Regions from separate parts of the Homo sapiens genome. Here all the other regions are linked to region 2. Evidence: promoter capture Hi-C in 16 types of primary human blood cells and fetal thymus (Javierre and others, 2016). All regions are on one chromosome and are shown on one strand. The core of a region is centred on a gene start or on the middle of the fragment in contact, and the rest is flanking DNA. Distances in the headings are between cores, read along the strand shown.

Region 1 (3,872 bases), core at 451-2,950, 1.2 Mb after region 2:
AAAGAACCAACACCTTTTTCCAAATTATTTGGGAGTTAGGAGGAAAGGTATTTTCTCAATACGAGGTATAATTACAGCAGTATTGACCCTTCTTTGAATCAGAAGTGTTCCTTTCCCTTTACAGATCCTAGAAAGTGATGCTCAGAGCAGGACAGTGACTCTCTGAGGTCACACATCCTGTCAGTGGCAGTCTCAGAAGGAGCGGGTGGATCTCTTGTATATCTCTTCTGGAATTCTGCTGGGAAACCCAGCTAGACCTGGTGGGCTTTTGGCAAACAGCAAATACACACAAAGAGCAAACATGACCCATTCATTATGCCTGAAAAATGCAGCTCTCCAAAAAAGAGTGTCTTCTCAGCGCCCTCTCAGCACCGATTTTCCTAGCCGTTCTGCTACTAAATGTCTTCAAGCAGGCCCACACATTTCTGTGATCTTCTTTCCAGAGGAATAATCAGTTATTTCTTGTAATTTCTACTTAATAATATTACAATAGTGAACTTTTTCTTTCCCTCATTAAAGTAGTGGTAGGTTGGATCAGAGGAAAGTTGATTTGTGGTCTCCACCTTTGTAACCAAGCCCTGGTCTTTAATTGGGATCTCCTTCTGGCAGCATCCCTCATGCCCGTGACAGGAAAACATCTTTGGTTGGATCATGAATTCTGATTTTTTTACCTGAAGTTTTCAGTACTCCCTACAAATAAAATTTTAATATAACTGGTTTCAGTACATCTAGGAGCCTTTTAATTACCCTCCAAAAGATGCTTAGGCAACAGCTTGCTATTAGGTTAAACAGTGTCAGCATCTGTACTGTAAACACTAACAGGTTTATTACACATTGCAAACCAACATTTGTCTTCTACTATTTTTTCTCTGAAGAGTCTTCTCTGGAAGTATATCTCCCATCCAATGGACAAAATGGACATGGGGACACCATCTTTTCATCTCCTTACTCCCCTCCACATTGCAACCTGAACATTTCTGACAATAAAACGGTGGGACACCTTGTGATAATTCAGGAGCCGATTACACAGCCACAGGCTCCACAGGCAGGTCCTCACCCTCCTCGCATCTCACGCCTGACCATTTCACTGTTCATTACCCCCTTTTCCAGAGAGTGAGCAGGGAAAACAAAAGGAGATGAAATTCAAACCCATCCATTTTGCTCCCTATTAGCTGTTCTAGTTAAAATTTTAATAGGGAGCAGCTGAAATGATTAATTAATATGAAGTTTGAGGACTGTCTCTGCAGCTCATTTGTCTACTCTTCCTTCCTCCTGAAATCATCTATAGTACAAAATGTACTGGCCTTGGGACTAGGCTAAGGCAGTTACTATGACCCTGGTGGCCAGAGGAAAGATAATCACGGCAAGTAACTGAGGAAACAAAACTGACATTAGGCTTTTTTGTAAAGAATTCCAAGCTTTATATTATCTCCCATAACATTTTAGACTCTTTATTAAATTATAAAATATAATATCCTATGGCTATTAAAAATAGCTGCTGCTTTGTTTATTTATTCCACTTACAAAAACCCCACAACAGAGAAAGTCATACTTACAGAAATAATAAACCTTAATAATACTATAGGAAAGCTGACTGGTAATGATAACGAATTTATACGAGATACTAAACAAACATTCAGCAAGCTAATCTAGGCTGTTAAACAATTAATAGTGATTGTGCAAGATAAACCCTTCAGAGAGGAGAAATAAAACTTTGAGCTTTTCAAAGTGATCGTGCAAGATAAACCCTTCAGAGAGGAGAAGTAAAACTTTGAGCTTTTCAAAAGGAATATTTACCTGCAGATAGAGAAAAATGTGTATTAAAGAAATAGGCTATATTTTCCTCTAGATAAAAAGATTTTTGTCTGCCACTTTAATATTTGTTGGCTAATTCAGAACATTATTTTAATATTTCATCAGAAAATTCTTTTCACTCTAGGCATTTGGTTTTTCTATTATATCCAAGTGTATACTCAAGGCTAAAAGCTTTTACAGAAGGATTGCATCTTTAGTCTTTAAGAAACATGGTAAGATATATAATTTGCTGAAATTCACTTTATTACCAAATTTGCAAGAATATATATCCAAAACATGAAATGAGGTATTCATGCATATGAATACACATATGATACAGGCTCAACTTCCCAAGTCATCTTATCCAAACCTCAAGGACAAATTACCCATAGAGCGTAGAGAAATGGAAACACTGAACTGGACTAGAAGCCAGCTGGGTTCTAGCCCTGCCTTGTCATCCACCAGCTGTGAGACCTTGAACCAGCCACCTCCTTCCCTGGGCCTCTGCAAAAAATAGTCTCAACATTTCCTCCAATTCTTAACTTGTGATCTATGGGATGAAGGATCAGGTCAGATCAGAAGAAAACTCAGCTGAGTTAAAGAATGCAAATTCAAAGTTCAATTGAGGATATTAGTACATGAGAGATCCACGACTGGACACCTGTAACTAACAAGAGATGGTAAAGCTGGGGGATTGGGGCCACTCTCAGTCCGGAGTCTGGAGCTCAGTGCTGCTATTTTATGAATTTTATGATTGTAGCTATATATAACCAATTTCTAATATCTCTTTTGCAAGGAGGAAAATATTTTTAAGCCAGAATGCCAACCTATTAACCTACCCATTGGGGATAGCTATTTATAATGACTGAAATACTCCTCACAGCTATTTACAGTGACTGTTCTGTTATTAAGGTAACTAGAGCCCTGAACCAGTCATCAAAATGTTACCCAATGAGTACAGAATAAGTTAGATCTGAGCTGATGCTGAGCAAGGAAAGAATAGCATGCAAAACTTCTAAGGTCAGATTAAAAAGGTGTTCTTTATATATGCATATATATATAAAGTATATATATATACACTTTAAGTTCTGGGATACATGTGCAGAACGTGCAGGTTTGTTACATAGGTATACACGTGCCATGGTGGTTTGCTGCACCCATAAACCCGTCATCTACATTAGGTATTTCTCCTAATGCTATCCCTCCCCTAGACTCCCACCCCCTGACAGGTCCCAGTGTGTGATGTTCTCCTCCCTGTGTCCATGTGTTCTCATTGTTCAACTCCTAGTTATGAGTGAGAACATGCGATGTTTGATCTTCTGTTCCTGTGATAGTTTTCTGAGAATGATGGTTTCCAGCTTCATCCATGTCCCTGCAAAGGATATGAACTCATCCTTTTTTATGGCTGCATAGTATTCCATGGTGTATATGTGCCACATTTTCTTTATCCAGTCTATCACTGATGGGCATTTGGGTTGGTTCCAAGTCTTTGCTATTGTAAATAGTGCAGCAATAAACATACATGTGCATGTGTCTTTATAGTAGAATGATTTATAATCCTTTGGGTATATACCCAGTAATGGGACTGCTGGGTCAAATGGTATTTCTGGTTCTAGATCCTTGAGGATTCGCCACACTGTCTTCCACAATGGTTGAACTAATTTACACTCCCACCAACAGTGTAGTGTTTCTATTTCTCCATATCCTCTCCAGCATCTGTTTGTTCCTAACTTTTTAATGATCGCCATCTAACTGGCATGAGATGGTATCTCATTGGGGTTTTGATTTGAATTTCTCTAAAGACCAGTGATGATGAGCTTTTTTCCATATGTTTATCGGCTGCATAAATGTAAAAGAAGGTGGTCTTAACCAAGGGTCTCAGACCTAGGCCTGAGTTTCAAGAGATCTGTGTCCCTGATGAAATTATATGCAAAATTGCATATGGATGTGACCATGTGCATTTTTCTAAGAAAAGTGTTCATAGCATGTATTTCCTCTCAAAGGAGTCTGTGATCTCCAAATGTTCATGAACCCCTGGGAAACACAGAATGGACTCAACACAGAAAGGGAGGATTTCA
Region 2 (3,972 bases), core at 718-3,217:
TATCATCTCTGCCCACCAGGCATCAAAAGCCATGCACTTTTCCTCTTCTCTGCTCTGGTTGTGAATAAGTGACACAGATCTCTACACTGTCATTCATAGCATCGGTGAGAAACGGCCATCAGAAAAATATTTGGAGAAAAAGTTCAGCAGAAAGGGCCCAGCCATTAGGGGTCTTTTTTTCTCTGTCATAGTCACTAGTGTGCATACATGAGTCTGGAGCCATGGCGAGTTTGTGCTAGGTGTTGGGCACCTCTCAGGGCAGTCCTGATGCCTGGTGTTTCCTGGGCTTCTCTGCATTCTTTGCCCTTTCTAGTGTCAGAGCCTTTAGAAGTGATGTGATCAGAGAGGATTGGGAGTAGGGGACTCGTGGGCTGACCTGGAACTAGGCCTCGCCACACACTGGAGAAGGCATTCTGGACTGTGGTACATGTATTCAGAGCAGTCTCATTTCTATCAAGAAGTTGATGCCCTCTGTTGACTTTCTAACTACAAATACCCTGGGCAGGCCATTTCCCCTTCTCCCAAGAGTAGGTCTGATAACTAAAGAGCCAACGAATCCAAACAACTCCTGCTTCAGTCAGGAATCAGCCCTGAGACTAGAGCGCCTGTCAACATACTCAGCCCTCTAGATTCTGTTTCTTTCCCCTGCCTGCCTTCCCAAGAGGTTCCCAGGGCTCTGGAGGCAGCTCCAGCCTATGTGGCTGGTAGTGGCAAGGCCATCCACAGCAGCATTACTTAAGCAAGGCAGGTGGAAGGTGGATGTTCAATGAGCACAGAGGCTCTGGGGACAGAAGAACCAAGGGCAGAGCAGCAGCAGGAATTCCAAGGAGCTCCAGAGCTGGAGGGGAGGAGAGAGGCAGAAGTCATTCTCCTGCATGGGCTGTCAGGCCTAACTCCTAAAGAACTGGCCCGCAGTCCGCCTAGTGCATCCTCACACCAGCCTCGGAGACAGCTTGCCATCCAGGACCCTGAGGTTCTCTGGCTTTTCAGGGGCTTATTTAACCTCCATTATCATCCCTCTGTACTCCATTCACATTGTGTTCTGTCGTCTGGAGAACAGAGAGGCCCGGATCCTGCTTTCCACAATCACTCTATAAACAGTCACTTTATTTTACCAATCTACAACTTACAAATTTACCCAGAAAGTGTGTAGGACAAGTAAAATTGATGGATAAGTTCAAGTGGAGACAGCAGGTTTCAAATCTTACCCTATCCAAACCTGCGTTCCTTTTACGCCTTTCATGCCTTCCATCTATAGGAGGCTGGGAGAAAGTCTCAAGAAAGGAGAAACTGAGGCTGTAAATTGTGCAAGGCCACACAGGGAGCTCCCCATCTAAAAGTCTGACTCAGCCCAAAGGTTTCCCAGCGTCCCCTGTGCCCTGCAGTGTGCTGTGGGGGGGAGCAGGCCTCTGCTACCCATGAGTCAGCCCTGAGGCTCTGGCCGCCTTCCTCCAGGGTATCTTCCAATCTTGCTCTACACCCGTTAGGGAGTGGCTGGGAGGAAAAAGACTCCCAGGGGTGACGGAAGCACCCACAGGCCTGCACAGGGAGTGAAACTGGGGCAATCACGGGGCTGCGCGTTGCCACGGGACTGCGCGTTGCCACGGGACGCCGGTGCCACTGCGGGGAAGCGACGGCAGCCATGGGGGAGAGGGTCGGGTTCGCTGACCTCGTTCGGGGGAGCAATGGGCGCCCCCCGGCGGGCAGGCCCTTGTGGCAAGGAGGCCAAGGTGCCGGGGGACCCGGGGACCCGGGTCGGGCGCGCGTTACCTCCTCCGCGCTGCAGCAGCGAGCTCGGGTTCGCCTGCTGGTCTGAGAGCGTACCCTGTGCGGCGCGCCGCTTCTCCGAGTGCACGATCAGCAGCATGTCGATAGATACAGCGTTGATGTCCTTCTTCAGCTCCATGATGCCGCCTCCTTTCCGACCTGGGCGCCGCGGCCGCACGCTAGGCTGCTTGCGCTGCAAATGGCCCCGTGCGCGCAGCTGCCCCACACGGGAGAGGGCGAGGGCGCGGAAGAGGGCGCTCCCCCGCCGCTGGAGCCGCAGGGCGCTGCTTTTCGCTGACTCTGCCAAACACGCCATTAGGGCCCGCCTGGGAGGGCGCTACCCTAATGAAGCGGCTCTAAGTCACCTTTGAAAGGAAATCCCCGGGCCCAAGCCTTGACCTGCACCGGGGCCATAGTCAGCAGGGGCGGCCGGTCCAGAGCCTCCCTCCCTGCGCCCCTGCCTCCCGCCCGGTGCACTTGAAGCGCTGGTCCTGGGCTCCAGGGCTTCTCTGGCTGAGCGCTGCCTCATCCCCACGGTCTCCGGAGGGTTCTCGAGAGGGCTGGAGCCGACCTCCCACGAGAAGCCCCTGGCAAATACAGAAATCGCACAGTGCTGTCAACATTGAGAGTAGATTCAGGAAAAGGAAAGACAGCAAAGGGGCTCCAGATTGAATTGCAAGATGTGCAGAGATTGTCCAAGTTTTGGCCTCGACCTCACTCCTTCCCTGGGTTGGTTTTGGAGGTTGACAGCTCTCTCTCCCTAGGAGGGAGTTGGGTGGGGTGTTGGAGTCAGGAGCTCCCCCCAGTTACGGCCCCTGTAGAACTTGGAACATGCCCATTGAGTATCAAGCTAACGATCCTCTTTGATCTGAAACGAAAGTCTTAAAGTCTCGGTTCGTTCTAGAAGCCTGGCTCCTGCCCTGTGGGGAAGGAGGGAGGGGGAGAGGAGGAGGCTGGGGCACAGGGAGCTGGACCTGAGAAGCCTTCTATTTTTAGCCCGGCCTGGCCTGCCCAGCCAACAGCAGCAGGGGTTTGGCTGTAGGTCTCAGGAGTGTTTACATAGGCTTCTGCCTGGTACCCCTGGGCACTACGGGCCCACCCTGCTGGGGGCGTTCCCCTAATTCGAGTTTCTACTGTTAATAAATGCACCCCCACATGGAGGCCTTTGCTCTGGGAGCCCTCCCCGCATTGGAGTGTATGGACCCCACCTTGTAGCATGGTCCTGAGAGTTCCCAGATCCTCCTTGGAGCAGCCTGTGTCACACAGACTGCATTCCAGTACCAGCTCCATCACTTCCTGGCTGTGTGACCTTGGACCAGCCATTTTCCCTCCACCTTCTCACCCTTATCACTGGGTTGATAAAAATTTCTCACATGGCTGTTGTGAGAATGGCATGAATGTAAGGCGCCTGGTGTATAGAAAGTGGTCTTCATATGGTAGCTGTCATTCTTACTTCATTTTAAGGGTGAGGAAAGGGAAAGATGGAGTGACAAGTGACTGATGGAGCAGAGAAGCAGGAGAGATGTCACAGCCACACTCTGAGATTCTGAAGGTCTTCCTCCAATAACAGTGGCTCAGAGTTTGGTTCCGTGTAAAGGCTGTTGTCTTATTGCATTACCAGCGCCCCCCCCCACCACCCCACCCCCTGACTCACCCACTGGGCATCTGATGGAAGGAGAGGTTGTTGGCTTCCAGTAATGTTGAACTGGAGTCCCTAGAGAGCTGAGGCCATAGACAGGCAAGTGGAGATGGCTGACTTCCAAGGCAGGTTTCCTTCTGCTAAAGTGAGTCTTGTCCTGTCTGTATGTGTGCAGGTACACACACACACACACACACGCGCGCGCGCACACCTGGGAGGCTGGCTAACACTTACTCTCTATGTGGCTGGGGAAGTAAGAACTATGCATTATGCAAAGCTCTTGGGGTGTTGGAGATTGCTGAGGCAGATCTCAGGTCCCAGAGTCCCCCCAACTACCCTGGGCCAGTCAGTGTTGTCTAACTCCTTCAAGTGTCAGGTTGTCTGAAGTGCTGAAATCAACTAGAAGCCTGTGTACAGCACCCTTGGTTGCCGGATGGGTCTGAGTGTTGGTGATGGTGGGGGGAGCTGAAGTCCCCTTTCCTTACACTTGCATTCCCATCTCCCAACCCTTGCTCTCCTGCTGGAAAGTGTCATTGCTAGGAACTCGCAAACTCTGGTGCCCCCTC
Region 3 (3,846 bases), core at 294-2,793, 1.3 Mb after region 2:
CAAGATCACACAAGGAAGTGACTGAACCAAGATTCTAGCCTAAGCAGTCTGGCTCCACAGCCTGTGCTTGTAACCTCTATGCTATACTGACTCCCGAGAGTTTAAAATTGTTACCATGGACACTGCTACAAAGGAAAAGTGGTAACATCTGTCACAGTATTCATTGGTCTTCATCTGTACCATACCAGAAGGTACATCTCCCTGTCTACAGAAAAGTTACACCTAAACCCTCTATATTCTGTTGTATGAAACCAAGAGAAGCCAGGCTTATCCTGGCCATGGATTCTCTGGAGAACACCCCCAGGGATGTTCATCAGTGGGGATGTCTCCAGACATGGGAGACTGTGTCTGCAGTTTTGTCTAGTAAGCAATGGACATGGTGCCATTTCCAGTGCCTAAGATCTTCCAAGAATTCCTAGACCCCCGAAGGGCACTCACAAAGCCATACCTTAGGGTGTCCTGTTCTTGGCCAAAGCTTTTGGGAGAGTGGGTGGACTCTTCAGGAACCATTGACAGCCAACCCTGCAGGGTTCTTCACCCTATACCCCAACTTCAGCTGGGTTTCTGAGGTCACATGGCATTCTCTTCCCTCACCTTTCCCTCATCAGTTCATCAGTGGGGCTGAACATCCTGGGGAGGTTCTCCAGAGAATCTATGGCCAGGATCACCTTTTCTCCCGCTGCCACTAAGTATGTTCTCAAAGCTATGGCAATGTCATCATTGATTGGCCTGTGAATATGGAGAGCTATGATGGGCAAAGTACTGTTGAATTCTTATGTTTGACTGATTTTAAAACTACAGCACTTCTGATTGAAATCTTGGTTTACTAAGCTTGATGGAGTGACAAAACACCATATCGTATATGAAATTAGAGCTTTCTATTTGTCCTCCCTTCATCATCAAGGTGTCCACTTCAAATCACTTCTCTCCACTCTCTTCATTTCTATGACTTCCTCCTTTTTCCCAGCCTCCCTCTTTTCCTTCCATTATTCTCCTCTTCCATTTTTCCCCCCTTGTCTTAGTCAATCGTATTGCTATAAAGGAATACCTGAGCTGGATAATTTATAAAGAAAAGAGTTTCATCTGGCTCACAGTTCTGCAGGTTGTACAAGAAGCATGGTACCAGCTCTTGCATCTGGTGAGGGCCTCAGGCTGCTTCCACTCATGGCAGAAGGTGAAGGGGAACTGGCCTGTGCAGATCACATGGCAAGAGAGGAAGCAAGAGAGAGAGAGGGAAGGTGCCAGTTTCTTTTTAACAACCAGCTATCTTAGGGAAAATATACAACAAGAACTCATTCACTTTCCACCAGGGAGGGCATTAATCTACTCATGAGGGCTCCCCACCATGACCCAAACATTAGCCGCACCTCCCACATTGGGGATCAAATGTCAGCATGAGGTTTGGAGGAATCAAATATCCAAACCATAGCACCCACTTTCATATTTTTCCCATGGGGGAGAAAGCCCGCAACATTAGCTGACATGTAGTGAAAAGAGAATCAAACTTGGAGTAGAACTCCTTAGATTGAAATGTCAACTCTCTAGGCTTCATTTCTTTGTTTATAAGATGACTATAAGAATGTTTTTTCTCAGAATTCATAAATACTTACTTAATAGCTACAGTGCATTGAGCACTGCACTAGGCATCGGGGATACATCAGCGACCGGTAATACAGATGGTCCCAAACTTATGATGGTTCCATTTAAGATTTTTTGACTTTAGAATGGTTTATTAGGATAGTCCCATCATAAGTAGAGGAGCGTCTGTAATTATATGCCAACAACTGTGAGAGGTGCTAAGGAAGATCATACACAGTGCGATAACAGCATATAGCACGAGGGTCTGTCCTTCCAAGAGAGGGCTTAGAACTACCACAGTAAAATAAACTGAAGTGTATGACAGAACTTTGTAAACTGTAATATAATATAGAAATGTAAAGTATCGTAATTTATATTCTGATCTATTTCTCCTCTCTCTCTTTTCCTCATTTCTTTACCTTTCCTTCTTTCATTTTTTGGAACCCCAGGGTCAACTCTAGATTCTCAAACAAGGATTCATAATTACAAGATAATTATATAATCAGAAAAACTCCCAGTAAATATTCAGGGGGAATGGGATGGAATGTAGGGTATGGAAATAGAGATGAACCTTCAAGGATTCTTTAAATAAAGTTAACCTTTATTCTTTAAATAAAGTTAGCATCTATTGAGTATCCATGTCTGCCAAATGCAGTGTTAGGCACTGAAGGTACAATGAAGCTTGCATCTGGAAACAGCTGAGCACACGGTACAGTGTGTAAGTGCTTTGACTGGCGGAGAAGGAAGAGGGCGTGCAGAGCACAGAGGAGGCTTCAAAACCAGCCTGCAGTGTCAGAAGCAGCTTTACAGAGGGCACAAGGTCCAAGCTGACTCCAGAGAATAAGTAGGTAGGAGTTACCCAGTTGGTCAAACTGAGGGAAATCCATATCACCTCAAAGCAGCAACATAAAAATAGCCATGGAGCAGTAAGGACTTTAGAGGAATACAAGGAGAGCATTTCAAATAGTCTAAGGACGAGAGCTTCCTCTCTCTCCTAGAAAAGCCACAGAGGAAGAACACAAGATGGCAGTGGTGTTATGGGATTGCATGAAGCAGGGAGGCCTTGATGCATCAGACAAAAACTACAACTCACAATAGAAGTTTGCAAGAAATGGGTACTCCCTTGTCCACGGGGGGCTTGTGAAATAGAGGACAAAGCAGCAATATGTATCAAAAGCCTAAAAAATGTTCCTGGTCCTTGGCCTAGTAATTCAGTCTCTAGAAATGTAGCCTAGGTAAAGATTTTCATACAAGGATGTCTAAAATGGCATTATTTTCCAATGGTAAGGGGCTGGAAACAAGTCAAAGTCTAACACTGAAGTCATAGCTAAATGAACTATGGTACAGTAAAATAGCAGATGGCCAATTGCAATCATGCTCTTGAATAGCATTTAATGATGAAGAAAATACTTGTAATATTAAGTACAAAAAATAGGATCTGAAACTACATAGACAGTATAGTTCATATTTTATTTAAAACTTATCTATAGATGTATGTACATGTGTATGTGTATGTAAAGAAAAAAGACTGGAAGGAAAAATAAAATGTTGGCAGTGGTGGAATTACATGCAGTTTTTATGTTATTCTTTAAGCTTTTTCTAATTTCCAAATTTATAATATTCTAGCCTGAATTTATAATAAACATTATAGAAGAAAATATTAACAGTCTGTCTCTAAGAAATTAGATGAAAGTTGATTTGTTAAATTCTTTATGCTTTCCAAAATATTTTCCCAAATTTCATGCTATTGCTCTTTCTTCTTTTTTTCTTTTTTTTTTTTTTTAGAGACAGGGTCTCACTCTATTGCCCAGGCTGGAGTACAGTGGGGCGATCTCAGCTCACTGCAGCCTCCACCTCCTGGGCTCAAGCAACCCTCCCACCTCAGCCTCTGGAGTAGCTGGGACCACAGGCAAGTACCACCACGCCTGGCTAATTTTTTGTATTTTTGTTAGAGTAGGGTTTCACTGTGTTACCCAGGCTGGCTATTGCTTTTTAAAAGAAACCAATGAAGAAACTTTTTTACTAGGAACCCAGAATGCTTAGAGAACAAGCTGCTATTTTAGGGATTAGTGATTAAGACACCTGCTGGGGACAGATGTCAGCTTAGCAGAGAATGATATGGGGGCTCCCTCCATGTCCCCAGAACAAGAGAACCTCCTATTGCCTTTCTACCTTTTCTGCTCCATGCATATACATTTGAGAATGAGAACTAGCCAAGGCTTTTGACCTTGATCTTTAACCTGAAGTTTTAACTCTGTTATGCCATTT

Evidence for each region. Contacts are between HindIII fragments. The CHiCAGO score rates a contact against its expected background, and 5 or more counts as called.
Region 1: a contact is called between a fragment that was not itself captured here and the fragment with the promoter of KY in region 2, in 2 of 17 cell types (endothelial precursors and M0 macrophages). The highest score is 8.4, in endothelial precursors.
Region 3: a fragment that was not itself captured here is called in contact with the fragment with the promoter of KY in region 2 in 2 of 17 cell types (endothelial precursors and M1 macrophages); the score reaches 11.3 in endothelial precursors.

The regions. Positions count from the first base shown.
Region 1 is chr3:135,883,389-135,887,260 of GRCh38, forward strand. No RefSeq gene overlaps it. Among named protein-coding and RNA genes, the nearest start is that of PPP2R3A, 80 kb to the right of the region's middle. The HindIII fragment of the contact is 568 bases long and covers 1,417-1,984 here.
Region 2 is chr3:134,649,055-134,653,026 of GRCh38, forward strand. It overlaps KY (kyphoscoliosis peptidase), which reads right to left and starts at 1,968. Exons shown (of 11, transcript NM_178554.6): 1 at 1,771-1,968. The coding sequence starts at 1,906. It also overlaps a transcript of CEP63 not described here. The HindIII fragment of the contact is 8,919 bases long and covers 1-3,972 here.
Region 3 is chr3:135,902,925-135,906,770 of GRCh38, forward strand. No RefSeq gene overlaps it. Among named protein-coding and RNA genes, the nearest start is that of PPP2R3A, 61 kb to the right of the region's middle. The HindIII fragment of the contact is 1,428 bases long and covers 830-2,257 here.